2 separate regions of the Homo sapiens genome follow, and region 2 is linked to region 1. Evidence: promoter capture Hi-C in human tissues and cell types (Jung and others, 2019). All regions are on one chromosome and are shown on one strand. Each heading gives the region's core, a stretch centred on a gene start or on the middle of the fragment in contact. The rest is flanking DNA. Distances are from core to core; before and after follow the strand shown.

Region 1 (3,154 bases), core at 431-2,930:
TGGTGAAACCCTGTCTGTACTAAAAATACAAAAATTAGCTTGGCATGGTCGTGGGCACCTGTAATCCCAGCTACTCAGGAAGCTGAGGCAGGAGAATCACTTGAATCCGGGAAGCAGAGATTGCAGTGAGCTGAGATTGCAGTCGAGCCTGGGCGACAGAGACAGAAATGAAACTCTGTCTCAAAAACAAACAAACAAAAAAACCACTATACATAAAAATGAACAATGATGCCACAATAGCACCAGAGAATTTTATAAATACAGATTCCCAGGCCCTGCCCCAGACCTACTGAATCCTGGAAATATTCAGGCTCCACACCCAGAGATTCTGGTTCGGTTGGTCTGATGCAGGGACCTGTAACCTGCGTTGTAACACCTTCTCCAGGTAATGCTGAGCCTGCTGGTGCTCAGAGTAGACAGACCTGGAGAAAACCAGGGTGTCTGAGGTTTTCCAGAAGAAAACCAGAGTCCAGAGAAGCAGAGAGGCACTCAGTGAGGACCCAAGCAGAGCGGGTGCACCTCACATCCTCACTCCTGGCACCCCGTCTCCTACAAGATGAGAGACTGAAAGAGCCCCTTCCTGTCCCCAGTGGTGTGGGCAAGAGGCCTGCACCTCTGACTCTTGGCTCTGTGAAAGGCCATACCCACCAAGCCTATGGTCCTAGCGACAAAGGGTGCTGGGGAGACGAATTGACCAGACAGGGAGGTCTCCAGCAGCTTCTTTCTACACAGAGGGCACCTGTCAGAGGCCAGCGTGGGGGCCACAGGCTCCCCAATCCCCAAGAACCGCCAGGGAAGGAGGCTGCTTCAAGTGGGTGGGGCACCAAGCTGGCCAGGAAGGACAGGGCTTCTCCCAGCGGTACCAACACGGTGGCACCTCCGGCCTGCATCTCCCAGGCTTGCTTGTCAGGCTTCCTGGGGCTCCCAGGAGCCGCTGCGGGGGAGGGGAGAAGGGGTGGCAGCAGTGGCAGTGGTCGTCTCTGCTCCGATGGTGACTGCCGATGACACTGTTCTCTGTGCGGGTGGAGACAAAGCCGGCCACTCCAGATTCTCCTGCGCGCAGGAGAGGAGGAGCTGGCGCTGCTTCAGTGGCGAGGATGGGTCGATCAGTCCCAGCCGGTCCTAGGGAGAGACACTGCCCCAGCCTGAGGGCGGCGCAGCCCACCCCACCCCAGGACCCTCCTAGCAGGAGGACAGGAACGCAAGCCGACCTCGGGGGGTCTCCGGCCTGAGAGGGGAACATGATCAAGCCCAGGGCAGCCGCCAGTCGGAGGGGGCAGACGCGGCCCCAGTAGCCTCTGGAGACCCTCTTCCGAGGCAAGGAGCCACATTCCTGCCGTCGGGACCACCAAAGCGGATTTCTACAAACTAAAGTCGAGAACTTTTCGGCGGCGAGGCGGCGCACCCCGCGCGGGAGAGGGGGCGCAGGCGTCACCCCGTCCTCACTCAGCAACACCCGGCGCCGCGCCGGGCGAAGGCTGGCAAACTTCTCGCGGCCGGCAGGTGGGCTCCGCGGGCCCCATGGGCGCAGGCACAGGTGTGCGGGGCCACAGCCGGGCCTTTTGCAGCCGGCGACCGCCCCCCCTTCCCCGCGGGCTTTTGCACACGACGCGCCGACGGCAGCTTCACACGGGTTGGCGAGGGCCGGATAAAGCCGGCGGCCGCGGGGCGCAGCGGCTGACCCGAGACACGGGAGCGCTTGGCACGCGGAGCCAGAGCCGGAGCTGCAGCCGCAGCGGGAGCCGGGGGAGCTCAGGGGCCGCAGGAGCCGGGCCGGAGTGAGCGCACCTCGCGGGGCCCTCGGGGCAGGTGGGTGAGCGCCACCCGGAGTCCCGCGCGCAACTTTCAGGGCGCACTCGGCGGGGCGGCTGCGCGGCTGCCGGGACTCGGCGCGGGACTGCATGGAGGCCAAGGAGAAGCAGCATCTGTTGGACGCCAGGCCGGCAATCCGGTAAGGCGAGAGCCTGGGGACGGGCGGGAATTTTGGCGGCAGCCGACGCACCTCCGCATTTGCCATCCTAGCAGTGGTTGGTTTTGGCTGCGGCTTGAGCTGGGACCATGCAGGAGGGGTGGGGTGAGGTGAGGGAACGAAGATAATGGGCTGTGGCCCAAGGACCGTCTCTCCCTTGGGGCGCAGCCCAGATTCTGACCCCTGCCCGCGGGGGGCCTGGGGCCGGGGGATTGGCGGTTCCCATGCCTGGAGTCCCGCCCCGCCCAGCACTTTGCCCCAGGCAGCCCCGCCCCGGGGAGGCCCTGTGTCCCAAGTGCGCTGGAGGGGGCCTGCTGTTCTCCCAGAGCCTGCGCTCTGTTCCTTCCCCGCGCTCCACTGGACAGCACGCCCCTTGGCCGGTTCCCAGGGTCTTCACCTCCTCTGGCCTCTGAAGGGCCCCGGGCCCCAGGACTCCCATTCCCCTATCATCCCCGTCTGAATACAGGCTTCTCACCTCTGGTTTGTCGAGCTCGGAGCGTCCTTAGCTATTTTTCCCAGTGGACACAAGGCCTCACAGAGAAATGGGACTAGAGTCGGCCCTCCTTACCTCATCTCAGAGCTGAGCGTTCCCTCTCTTCCCCTCTGGCCAGGTCATACACGGGATCTCTGTGGCAGGAAGGGGCTGGCTGGATTCCTCTGCCCCGACCTGGCCTGGACTTGCAGGCCATTGAGCTGGCTGCCCAGAGCAACCATCACTGCCATGCTCAGAAGGGTCCTGACAGTCACTGTGACCCCAAGAAGGGGAAGGCCCAGCGCCAGCTGTATGTAGCCTCTGCCATCTGCCTGTTGTTCATGATCGGAGAAGTCGTTGGTAAGCACTTTTGGGCTAATTAAATGAAGTTGGTGCATGGATAGACTGGATGTTCCCAGCAATACTGACACTAAAAGCCCCAATTACTGAACACACACTACAGTAAGCCTTTATATACACATTATCTGATGCAGGTCTAACAACAACCTGTGTTCTCACATGGGTGACGTTATTCTCCTTACTTTACAGATGATGAAACTGAGGCATGTTCAGGTGAAGTAACTTGCCAAAGATCACGCACAACTCGTAGCTAAGGGAAGGCCTGAATTCCTAGAAGGGAAGAGCATTTACTGAGTATCTGCTATGTTTTCCAGTCCCTATTTGAACTTGATGTGCACATTCACCCTCTAAGT
Region 2 (3,154 bases), core at 239-2,738, 75 kb after region 1:
CCACAGATCCCACCTCCTTGCTCCTGTCCCTGCTCCTGCTAGCTCAACCTTTTCCCTGCACTGCCAGGCATTGTAGTCTACGGGTCAAGCCAGCTTTGAAGCCAAGCACATCTGGCTTCAAATCCTAACTCCATCCCCAACTACTTGTATGACCTGACCCTAAGCAGATAGTTTCTCTCCTTGGATTCTGTCAAGGGGGAAAATACTTCCCTTACAAGGTTGCTGTGAAAATAAAGTGTGATAATACATGAAAAGCACCTTGCACATAGTAGGTGCCTAACACACATCTGTATGCCCTAGCCGCCAGACCCCTGCCAGTTGTTTTTCTTTTCCCCTAGTGGTTCTGTTCATCGGAGTCAAACTGACTTTGCTTTTGTGACTGGCAACTTGATTGGTAAATTCTTCTCCACTGAAACCCGTGGGAGCCTGGACCCCTATGAAGGGCAGGAGGTTATGGTACGGGCCATGTTGGCCTTCCTGCAGAAGCACCTCGGTAAGGAGAAAACTGGGGCTCTTGGGGCAGCTGTGGGGTCCCTTAGATTTCCTTGCAGCAGAGTGAGAACTCTGACATGTCTGGGATCTGGGAAGGAGATTTATGGCAAATGGAAAACCTGAGTGAAGGAGAGACTTACATAGAATTACAGAAAAAACAAGTCCAGGTGCAGTGGCTCACGCCTGTAATCCTAGCACTTTGGTGGGTTGAGGTGGGAGGATGGCTTGGGGCCAGGAGTTCGAGACCAGTCTGAGCAACATAGTGAGACTCTATCTTTACCAAAAAAAAAAAAAAATTAGCTGGGTGTGGTGGCACACACCTATAGTCCCAGCTACTCGAGAGGCTACGGTGGGAGGATCAGTTAAGCCTAGGAGGTCTAGGCTGCAGTGAGCCATGATTGCACCACTGAACTCCAGTCTGAGCAACAGAGCAAGACCTTGTTTCTAAATAAATAATTAAACAAATAAATAAGAAAAAATACTTAACTGAAAGTTTGGAGATCCTGACTATCTTACTTGCAGAATGACCTGGCCTAGTCATTTAACCTCTCTGAACCTTGGTTTCCTCCCTGTAAATGGAGTATTCACCTCTCTCTACTCCACCACCTCTCTCCTTACCCAGACTCATTATTGCCCACCTTATCTGCATTGTAGGGGAGTTTATGAGGATAACGGGCTAAATTTATGGAAGTGTTTTAAAGAAACAAAGCATGGAAGGACTATGAATAATGTCATCAGTCATAGAGCAGCTAAAGGGCGAGGCCTGCAGAGGTCCATGGTCCAGCTTCCACCCAGAGGAGGCATCCTCTTATTAAGCTTTATTGGTTACAAAGACTAGAGGTTCACAAACTTAGCTTGAGAAAAAAAGGGGAGTTTGTTTATGAGAGTGCACCTGGACTGGGTGGGAGTGCAGTTATAGAAATCAGGGTGGCTGGCAGGACTGACTTTTCTTTCCGTCTGTCTCATGGGTTCAGTCTCTCTGTGTCTTCCTCTCACGACATCTCTTTTTCTTTGTTCCGTTATGCATTTTTTTTTCTGCTCTGTGGTTTTTCTCTCACTGATAGCAGCTGTTTATTCCATTTCTGCTTCCTCATAACTTCACTCGGCTTGAACCACTCAGAGTGTGTTCCCTTTAGCTTGCGGCATCCTTTCATCTTCAGCTCCCACTGCTCACTGCCATATTTTTTTGGATTTCTTTGAACAGATTTCCAAGAGAGGCAATTTGATTGTATCAGCTCCTCTTTGCCCACCAGAACACACTGTAGCCCCGTCCCAGCTAGGCTCTGAGCTCTCTGCATCAGAGGTCCCTTTCTGATCCCTCAGCAGGTGCTGTGTGCAGGGCAGTTTCCATGAGAAAGGAGCCAGGCTTGTCTGAATTTCAAAGGTTTGACTTAACTCTAACCTAAGAGCAAGATCTCCTAGTTTGTAACCCTCCTCTACTTGCCCAGGTTAACCCCTCAAGAGCTACCCATAGAAGCCTCAGACGGCACCTGGCAGTTCCCTAGATATTTGAAGTCACCTATGCTAGTCTTCTCTGAGTGTTCTGTTTATTAAACTAAATGTTCGTGGTACCTCCACCTGTCCCGGTTCAATTCCCCATGTTGCTATTTGTTATCCCCTTCCTTTGGAGTCGCTGTTTTTTGGTGCCCCTTCTAAAGTGTAGTGCCCTGGCCGGGTGTGGTAGCTCAACATCTGTAATCCCAGCTACTTTGGGAGGCTGAGATGGGAGGATTGCTTGAGGCCACGGGTTTGAGACCAGCCTGTGCAACATAGTGAGACCCCATCTCAGCAAAAAAATAAATAAAATTAGCCAGGTATGGTGGCATGTGCCTATAGTCCCAGCTACTCGGGAGGCTGGGGTGGAAGGATCACTTGAGCCTGGGAGGTCAAGACTGCAGTGAGCCAAGATCATGCCATTGCACTCCAGCCTGGGCAACAGAGTGATACCGTCTCCAAAAAATAAAATAAATAGATAAACTGTGGTGCCCTGACTTGACTATAATGTATTAGATGTGGTCTGACCGGTGCCATCCTGGACAGTCTCTTCTGTGCTCTGTTTTTTGTTTTGTTTTGTTTTGTTTGAGACGGAGTCTCACTCTGTCTCTCAGGCTGGAGTGCAGTGGTGTGATCTCAGCTCACTGCAACCTCAACCTCCTGGGTTCAAGCGATTCTCCGGCAGTTCTCCTGCCACAGCCTCCCAAGTAGCTGGGACTACAGGCATGTGCCACCACACCCAGCTACTTTTTGTATTTTTAGTAGAGACAGGGTTTCACCATGTTGGCCTGGCTGGTCTCGAACTCCTAACCTCCAGTGATCCACCTGCCTCGGCCTCCCAAAGTGCTGGGATTACAGGTGTGAGCCATCGCGCCTGGCCGTCTCTGTGCTCTGGACACTAGCCTTTTAGTTGGATGACCTGAGTGCATTCACATTCCTCACAAGTGCACAACAAACAGCCTGGATTGAGTTTGCATTTAAAACACATCTGTCTTACGCATTTATTGACTTTTTGGAAGTAAATTTTCATTTTTATATTTCTGCCTGTTCGTTTCATCTTACACATCGTGAGCCTTGATTCCAGCCTGTGTTTGGAGACCTTAGGGTCAATAAGAGATTTTAGGGCATCATTCTTATCACCTGGCAAGCAGGGAATGGACCCATGTCT

Evidence for each region. Contacts are between HindIII fragments. The study calls those that stand out against the background at their distance.
Region 2: a contact is called between a fragment that was not itself captured here and the fragment with the promoter of SLC30A2 in region 1, in 2 of the 25 tissues and cell types used here (IMR-90 fibroblasts and spleen).

Annotation. Positions count from the first base shown.
Region 1 is chr1:26,044,644-26,047,797 of GRCh38, reverse strand. SLC30A2 (solute carrier family 30 member 2) reads left to right here and starts at 1,680. Exons shown (of 8, transcript NM_001004434.3): 1 at 1,680-1,951; 2 at 2,581-2,801. The coding sequence starts at 1,902. RefSeq lists an enhancer at 2,081-2,649. The HindIII fragment of the contact is 12,838 bases long and covers 1-3,154 here.
Region 2 is chr1:25,969,897-25,973,050 of GRCh38, reverse strand. It overlaps PAFAH2 (platelet activating factor acetylhydrolase 2), which reads left to right. Exons shown (of 11, transcript NM_000437.4): 10 at 339-493. Among named protein-coding and RNA genes, the nearest start is that of PAFAH2, 27 kb to the left of the region's middle. The HindIII fragment of the contact is 4,625 bases long and covers 1-3,154 here.